Regions from separate parts of the Homo sapiens genome. Here regions 2 and 3 are each linked to region 1. The links are contacts of gene promoters, found by promoter capture Hi-C in blood cells and fetal thymus (Javierre and others, 2016). All regions are on one chromosome and are shown on one strand. The core of a region is centred on a gene start or on the middle of the fragment in contact, and the rest is flanking DNA. Distances in the headings are between cores, read along the strand shown. Region 1 holds the start of SMARCC2 (SWI/SNF related BAF chromatin remodeling complex subunit C2). Region 2 has its middle 6.2 kb from the start of MIP. Region 3 holds the start of GLS2 (glutaminase 2).

Region 1 (2,700 bases), core at 158-2,657:
TTAAACTTCCCAAGATCACTCCCATCCTCCCAAATCCAGGGGTTAAGACCTTTTGGCGGCTTCCCTTTTGGAGAGAGAAAGTGCACGAAAGAAACGTGTGAGAACTGGGGTTACCTTTATGTGCTGTGAAAGGGGTTAAAAAAGTCGACGCCTGTAATCCCAGCATTTTGGGAGGCCGAGGCGGGCAGATAACCTGAGGTCAGGAGTTTGAGACCAGCCTGGCCAATATGGTGAACCTGTCTCTACTAAAAATACAAAAATTAGCCAGGTATGGTGACGCATGCCTGTGGTCCCAGCTACTCGGGAAGCTAAGGCAGGAGAATTGCTTGAACCCGGGAAGCGGAGGTTGCGGTGAGCCGAGATCGCGCCACTGCACTCCAGCCTGAGCAACAGAGCGAGACTCCCTTTTAATAATAAGAAGAAGAAAGAAAAAAAAAAAAAACCCGTCACGAACAGGATTCGAACCTGTGCGGGGAAACCCCATTGGATTTCGAGTCCAACGCCTTAACCACTCGGCCACCGTGACTTCCAAAACCGCGCTTTATCGCGCGCTTACAGAAGGGGTCCGCACTGCAATCCGGGAATGCGTGCGGGAACCGGAAGCAGGGTACCGGCCCCGACACACACACACCTGAGGACTCCCCACCCCTCGGTTCCTTACCTCCTATCTACGCCACCCAAAGAAAAAGAGTCGGATGGACTGGGTGACCCAGGGAGGGAGGGTCTCCTGCCTAGCGAAGAGTCGGGGTCTCGAGTAGGAGCTCACACCTACTTAGGAGGCGACAGCGAGGCCTGCGGAGGAAGCAGTTGAGGGAAGGCACTGGGCCGCCAGGGTGGCGACTAGGGGACATTTGGGTTAACAAGTGAGGGGAGTGCTGGGTGGACAAGGCGCGAGGAGTGAGGGAGACTCTGAAAAGTTTAAATGGGGAGCTGCTGTGAATGGATGGAAGGAAGGAACTTCTTGGGGAAAGGGGTTTGGGGTTTTGGGGGACGAGGGGCTTCGTCGGGTTAGGAATGCGCAAGGTGAGGACCACTCGGGTCTACGGGTTGGGGCTGCTCCAGCGACTGGCGGCCGCCTGGAGTGGGATAGCGAGGTGACACTCCCGAGCTGAGGCAAAAAGAGGGAAAGGGCTTCGCGTCTGGTAAGAGCGATCTCAGGAGAATGGCGCCCCCTCCAGGAAGCGTCCTTCTCCCCGGAGGCTCCCGCCTCCGCTGCCGGGGAGGCCGCCAGGGTCGGCCCGCGCCTGGAGCTCCGCCGCCGCGCCCGGCCTGCCGGCAGGGGGCGCAGCGCGGACCGGGGCCGGCCCAGGCGGCGGGAGGCGGCGGCCGCGGCGGCGGGAGGCGGCGGGAGGCGGGCGGAGGAGGAGGCGGAGGAGGCGGGAGCTGAGCTGAGTGGGGCGGGCGGCGGCGGGGCCCGAGCCGGAGAAGATGGCGGTGCGGAAGAAGGACGGCGGCCCCAACGTGAAGTACTACGAGGCCGCGGACACCGTGACCCAGTTCGACAACGTGCGGCTGTGGCTCGGCAAGAACTACAAGAAGGTACGCGGGCCGGGCCGGGCCGCGCGGGGACCGGGGGCGGGACAAAGGGACCGCGGCCCTGCAGCCCCGGGATCCTGCCTACCCTCCAGGCGCCCCAGCCCCTCCCCCGCGGCCTCCCAAGCAGCCCCCCGCGCGCCCTCCTGCGCTCCCGCGCCCCTCCCCCAGCCTCCCTCTCCCCGCACCCCCAGCCTCTGAGCCCAGCCCCCGCCCCCACTGCTGCGCCCTCTGCCCCTTGTTTTTCTCTACTGCCCGGCGGGCCCCGGTGCCATTAGCCCACCTTCCCCTCAGCCATCGCCCTCCTGGCTTTTCTGGGAGAGGCGGCCGGCCGGGTGTGGACCGGGTGCCCAATGGGCTCCCCCGCAACCCGGAGCGTGCCCGCCAGAGCTCCCCACGGAGCCAGGTACCAGCGGGGCTGAGGCCTCTCCGGTGCTTTGTGTATGTTCAGAGAGAGAGAATGGAAAGCAGGAGGGTAAACAGTCACAGAGCAAGCCGTTGGCTGCTCATCAGCCTGAAAAAGGTCTCCACCCAGGGATCACCTGTCTCCGCCGCTCATCCCCCACCTTCATCTAAGGGGCAACAGAATCTCTCAGGGAGCCGGGGTATAGGAGTTCCTGGGTAGCGGCCCCTTCCGAAACCTTTCCTCGATTTTACAATGAAGTCACCTTGCAACCTAGCTTTGCAGTACCCTGGGTTTGGGGTCGAGAGGTTAGGGTGAGCTTCCTATCTCTAGCCCCTCACACCCAAACCCCATAACTGGAGATCATAAGGTGGTGAACAAAAGGTTCAAGAATCCTTACCTGTCTTTTCTACCAAACCTCTTCCTGGTGTCGTCTTTGTCTCTAGGCCTGGTTTTCTCTGGAAATGGTCTGCCTCTCTTTTTCTCACTACCCTCAGAGAGGGATTCTCTTTATGGCTTTCTTTCAGCTCCCCAGTTCTTCCTGCCGGCTTTGCAGCTCGTCAGAAGTGTGCTTAGTGGCTTAGGAGAACTTCCTACTGATGCTGGTTGTGAGCCTGGCCCTGCCCTTGGGGTCTCTCTGGGTGTGAGAATCCTGACAAATAGCTGCTATTTCTATGGCATGTCTCTACGCCTGTGAGAGGCTCTTATTCCCAGGCTTCTACCTTTGACCTTTTGCAGGGAGATCAGGCTAGGGGCTTAGCCTC
Region 2 (2,700 bases), core at 10-2,509, 270 kb before region 1:
TCAAGCCATTCTCCTGCCTCAGCCTCCCAAGTAGCTGGGACTACAGGCATACACCACCATGCCCAGCTAATTTTTATATTTTTAGTAGAGACGGGTTTCACCATGTTGGCCAGACTGGTCATGAACTCCTGGCCTCAAGTAATCCGCCTGCCTCGGCCTCCAGAGTGCTAGGATTACAGGTGTGAACCCCTGCGCCTGGCCTTTATTTATTGTTTTGAACAGAGTCTCCCTCTGTTGCCAAGGCTAAAGTGCAGTGGTGCCATAAGCTTACTGCAGCCTTGAACTCCTGGCCTCTGGTGATCCTCCTGCCTTGGCCTCCCAAAGTGCTGGGATTACAGGCATGAGTCACCATGACTGGCTATTTTTCCTTTTACATTTTATTTATTTATTTTATATATAATTTATATATATAATTTATTTATATATATTTACATTTATTTATATTTTTACAATCTGGCCGGATAGGCAGTAAAATACTATTTTGTTTTCTTTTAAAGAGACACAGTCTCGCTCCGTCACCCAGGCTGGAATGCAGTGACATAATCATAGCTCACTGTAGCCTTGAATTCCTGGACTCAAGTGAACCTTCCACCTCAGCCTCCTGAGTAGCTAAGACTATAGGCACGTGCCACCACACCCTCTAATTTTTAAAAATTTCTTATAGAGACAGGGTCTTGTTATGTTGCCCAAGCTGGACTTGAACTCCTGACAAGGTAGTCCTCCTGCCTTGGCCTCCCAAAGTGTTGAGGTTACAGGCACGAGCCACCACACCTGTCCAGCGTAGATCGTTTATGGAACTCAAACCTGATATATTCTTCAGGTCCTGATAATATGAGCTGGCTAGGGAGTAGCTGCAGTAAGATGGTGAGTCAGTCCTGGACATCCTTAGAGGTGACTATGGTAATCACATGGGACCCACTGTGGAGGAACACAGCAAGAAAAATAGCTCTGCCTGCAGATTTCCTAAGCTATATAGACCCACTTGCTCTCTATTACTATGGATTATGGTTGTATAGCACTCTCTGGGACTAAGCAATGGAGCCTTCCTTATTGAAGTGGGGAGTAAGCTAGGATCACTGTCACTGTCCTAAAGTTTGAAAGACTGATCATTAGTAATCAAGAGCTAACTCAGTTAAGTATAGAGACAAATGAGAATTCAGGGTGATTACTGCTAGGAGCCATTAAGATTTATAATAACTTTGTAATTACTCAAATTTGTTATTTTACAAATCCTTTCTCCATTTTCATAGTCCCTGTTGGAAAAAACTTCAAAAACATTTGTATACTTACTTAATGCCAGAAGAAAAGAAAGGTGGAGAATCTATAGCTAAAAACATTTTGCAACCCCTGAAAAGAACCCCAAATACAAGAATGAAGTAGAATAATAGCAAAGGGGGGAACAAGTGAACAAGAAAAAAAGAGGAAGATGAACTGGAGTGTGTCCTGGCATCACCCGGGAGGGTTAGACCCCAGAAATCCCCTTATTCCTAGGCAATTCTCCAAAGTCACCTTCCTTGGCAGATTTCTTTTCTTTTGTTTTTGTTTTTATTTTGTTTTGTTTTTTAAGACAGAGTCTCACTCTGTGGTCCAGGCTGGAGTGCAGTAGTGCAATCATGGCCCACTGCAGCCTCAACCTCCACAGGCTCAGTGAACCACGCTAAGGCCTGGTTATTTTATGGTGTTGTTTTGAGACAGGGTTTCACTCTGTTGCCCAGGCTGGAGTGCAGTGGCACCATCACAGCTCACCGCCTCAGCCTTCCAAGTAACTGGGACCACAGGTGCATCCCACTTCTGAAGGGAGACACAGCCTTTTTTTGTTTTTTGTTTTTTGTTTTGAGATGAAGTCTTGCTCTGTCGCCCAAGCTAGAGTGCAGTGGTGCAATCTCGGCTCACTGCAAGCTCCGCCTCCCTGGTTCACGCCATTCTCCTGCCTCAGCCTACCGAGGAGCTGGGACTACAGGCGCCTGCCACCACGCCCGGCTAATTTTTTGTATTTTTAGTAGAGACGGGGTTTCACCGTGTTAGCCAGGATGGTCTCGATCTCCTGACCTCGTGATCCGCTCGCCTCGGCCTCCCAAGGGCTGGTATTACAGGCGTGAGCCACTGCGCCTGGATTGTATTTGTTTTTTGTTGTTTTTTTGTTAAAAAGGCTAGGCTAAGGCTGGGTGAGGTGCCTCACGCCTGTAATCCCAGCACTTTGGGAGGCCAAGGCAGGCAGATTGCTTGAGCCCAAGAGTTCAAGATAAGCTTGGGTCACACGGCAAAACCCCATCTCTACAAAAAATACAAACATTAGCTAGGTGTGATGGTGCATGCCTGTAGTCCCAGCTATTTGGGAGGCTGAGGTGGTGGGAGGATTGTTTGAGCCTGGGAGATTGCGTCACTACACCCCAGCCTGGAGTCTCACCTTTTTTGAGACAGAGCAAGACCCCGTCTCAAAAAAAAAAAAAAAAAAAAAAAAAAAAAAGGCCAGGTTCTATGGTTATGCTTGTAATCCCAGCACTTTGGGAGGCTGAGGTGGTAGAATCGGTAGGTTGGCTTGAAGCCAGGAGTTTGAGACCAGCCTGGGCAACGCAGTAACACCTCATCTCTACAAAAAATTTTTAAATAAGCTGGGTGCAGTGGCACGTGCCTGTAGTCTCAGCTACTCAGGGGGCTTAGGTGGGAGGATTGCATGAGCCCAGAAGTTTAAGACTGCAA
Region 3 (2,700 bases), core at 201-2,700, 300 kb before region 1:
AAACAAAAACTAGTATTTTGTGATACAGCCAGAACTATCACAAGGAAAAGACTCCCAGTACTGTATCATAATACTTCCACATAAAATACCTCCTTTAGGGATGGGGTCATTTCTCCCGGGATAATTCAATTCAATGCTTAATTTTTGAGAAGGGCTGCATGAAGGAGAGACTTGTAGTTAAAAAAAAAAAACGGGTCTAATTTCTGGTTCTGGTACTTACTAGCTGGGTTACCTTATGCGAGAATTCTTAATTTCCTAGTCTTAGTTTCCTCACCTTCAAATTGAGACTAATAACTACTTTGTAGGTCTCTGGTAAGAGGGAGAGAGAAACTAAGCGGTTGGAACACCATGGGCACTCAATAATAGCTATCATTTACATAATGAGTCCCTACTAAATATGGATGCTGGGTTAGGCGCTGCCGAGATACAAGGTGAAAGTTCTAGCTGCAAATGGCAAAAGTCCTGAATGTTCTTGGATTTCAAAATGCTTTTTGTATATCGCCTCTTTTCTGCCCGTGAGGAGGACAAGGGCAAACAATTAAAATAGGAAAAATGTGGGGAGCACTTCATGGTTTATAAAACGTTTTTCTGCGTGCCAACTTATTTTAATGTCTTAACTTTCCAGATTTGAAAACAAGTCCTACACCAAATAAATGGTAGAGGGACACAAACTGGAACCCAGGCTTCCTAACCGCCAGAGCGACCTTCCCGCCGCCCAATGCCTCCCTGAGGTGCTGGTCGGCTGCTTCTGCCCGGGGTACCCAGCAGTCATCCTACTCTCCACTCAGCACCACCGCACGTCGGCCGCGCGCCACGCTACCCGCCGGGTTACTGGGCGCTGGTTTGGCCTTCGGAGGTCGAGGCTCTCTGAGTGACCTCCTGAACTGGGCTCACTCTTACTTAGCCTCCTCTCTCGAGGCAGCACCCTCCTCTCTACACGACAACTCCATCATTCGCAGCCCCACGGTGTTCCCGGGGAGCGCCTCCCGCCCCCACCGGCTTCGCCTCAGCTTGTCCTCGCCTTTCCCGCCCTCAGCATCCGCGGATACCCGCGCTCGCCGGGCCCACGCGGAAGCATCCGCAGACTGTCGCAAGGTCCCACCGTCTTGCTCTCATTGGGCAACCTTACCCTTTCCCCGCCTCAATGTTTTTGCTTCCTCAGTGATTGGACCTGGGCATTGTCCATTCCAGCTCCCAGGCACCGCCCTCTCTCCACCCACTAGAAAGCCACCCGGGTTCTCCTTCATCCCCAACGCTCCTCACCTAGCCCCTGTCCTGAGGGTGCCCCTAACCCTGGAGCCAGCTTTAAAGGGGCAGGCCCCTTCTCCTGCCCCAGCCCCAGCCCCACCCACCGGGCCCACATTCTCCGTCTTCCAGGTCCAGCGCTCCCTCACAGAACTCCCCCGCACCTTGTCTCGCTCGCTCCGCCCCTCCTTCCCAGCCACAGCTAGAGGTCCCGGGCGCACCTGCAGAGCCGGAGGCTTGCTGGGGCATGCGCTCCATGAAGGCTCTGCAGAAGGCCCTGAGCCGGGCTGGCAGTCACTGCGGGCGAGGAGGCTGGGGTCACCCGAGCCGGAGCCCCCTCCTTGGCGGGGGCGTCCGGCACCACCTCAGTGAGGCCGCGGCGCAGGGCAGAGAGACGCCACACAGCCACCAGCCGCAGCACCAGGATCAGTAAGGCTCCTGGGACAGGGCAGGGGACGGGCTTGCCCCCACTCCCACTGTGGTTCTCGCTAGTTCCCGAGTGCCCTTCCAAGGCAGCGCCGCTCATCTCCCCTCTCCTCGCTCACTAGCCCTCGGTGCCTTTTCCTTTGGATGTGGGGCTTTGGGTGCGCCGCGCTCGGGCGGTAATCTGCCGTCTGCCTAGGAGTGCGTTCGGGCAAGCGGGTCCTGGGGATGGCGCCTGTCCAAGGTGCGCACTTAACCCGGATCACAGATGCGCGCCGAGTGTTGCTTGGCTCACGTGTCTGAGTGCAGGGCCGGGCTCACGCCGCCAGTCCTCACCTTCCCTAGTCCTCGTGTGTATTTTAGGAGATGCGTGGATGTGGAACAGCCTCCTGCCTCCGGTCCAGGTGTACTGGGGTCTGTGTGTTGTGTTTCTGCGTGTTCTCGGCAGGTAATGTGTGATGCGCGTGTATTATTGGTGCGCAGGTACGTCCATAAGTGTTGGGTGTGTGCGTAGCAGTGCTCCCTGAACAGCAGAATGGGGGGGAATTTCCAAACTGGTTGTTGAATGGGGAGAATATTTGTAATGGAGGAAAGGTCTTTAAGACGCAGATTTCCCAAACCAGAGCCAGTCAGAGCCTTTATTTGTGCTGCCCAGGCTCCAGAATCTAAAACGTTCTCTTCCTTTGGGTGTTTCTTCCACCCAGGATGCCAAACCTTTATCTTCCCCACCGCCTAGGACACACTTGGTGGCTGAGCCTTTTTCTCTGAGACCCAGACGGTGCTGAGCAGGAAATCTTGTCCTCCCCAGAGGGCCAGCATAGACACTGTCCAAAGAGCCCCTGCTCTACTGTAGCAGGAACAGGAAATGGGCCATCTCCCTCGTCGCTGCCATCTCCCTGATGACACTCAGAAACATGGACACCATCAGTAAAGTAGCCAGACTGACACAACACTACCTCACCACTACTCGAGTCTCTGACACAACACTACCTCACCACTACTCGAGTCTCTGTCGTAAGGGACACCAATAGG

What was found. Contacts are between HindIII fragments. The CHiCAGO score rates a contact against its expected background, and 5 or more counts as called.
Region 2: a contact is called between a fragment that was not itself captured here and the fragment with the promoter of SMARCC2 in region 1, in 17 of 17 cell types (naive CD8 T cells, total CD8 T cells, naive CD4 T cells and 14 more). The highest score is 14.3, in naive CD8 T cells.
Region 3: the fragment with the promoter of GLS2 here is called in contact with the fragment with the promoter of SMARCC2 in region 1 in 9 of 17 cell types (naive CD4 T cells, naive CD8 T cells, naive B cells and 6 more); the score reaches 7.9 in naive CD4 T cells.

What each region holds. Positions count from the first base shown.
Region 1 is chr12:56,188,190-56,190,889 of GRCh38, reverse strand. It overlaps SMARCC2 (SWI/SNF related BAF chromatin remodeling complex subunit C2), which reads left to right and starts at 1,407. Exons shown (of 29, transcript NM_001330288.2): 1 at 1,407-1,539. The coding sequence starts at 1,429. It overlaps TRS-CGA4-1 (tRNA-Ser (anticodon CGA) 4-1), which reads right to left and starts at 526; the gene lies at 445-526. LOC107984468 (a long non-coding RNA gene) reads right to left here and starts at 198. Exons shown (of 2, transcript XR_007063330.1): 1 at 1-198. RefSeq lists an enhancer at 761-860 and silencers at 1,101-1,380, 1,451-1,670. The HindIII fragment of the contact is 5,408 bases long and covers 1-2,700 here.
Region 2 is chr12:56,459,530-56,462,229 of GRCh38, reverse strand. No RefSeq gene overlaps it. Among named protein-coding and RNA genes, the nearest start is that of MIP, 6.2 kb to the right of the region's middle. The HindIII fragment of the contact is 1,981 bases long and covers 269-2,249 here.
Region 3 is chr12:56,486,911-56,489,610 of GRCh38, reverse strand. GLS2 (glutaminase 2) reads left to right here and starts at 1,450. Exons shown (of 18, transcript NM_013267.4): 1 at 1,450-1,674. The coding sequence starts at 1,493. LOC124902944 (a long non-coding RNA gene) reads right to left here. Exons shown (of 2, transcript XR_007063331.1): 1 at 2,659-2,700; 2 at 2,279-2,624. RefSeq lists a silencer at 1,104-1,533 and an enhancer at 1,694-1,913. The HindIII fragment of the contact is 16,217 bases long and covers 1-2,700 here.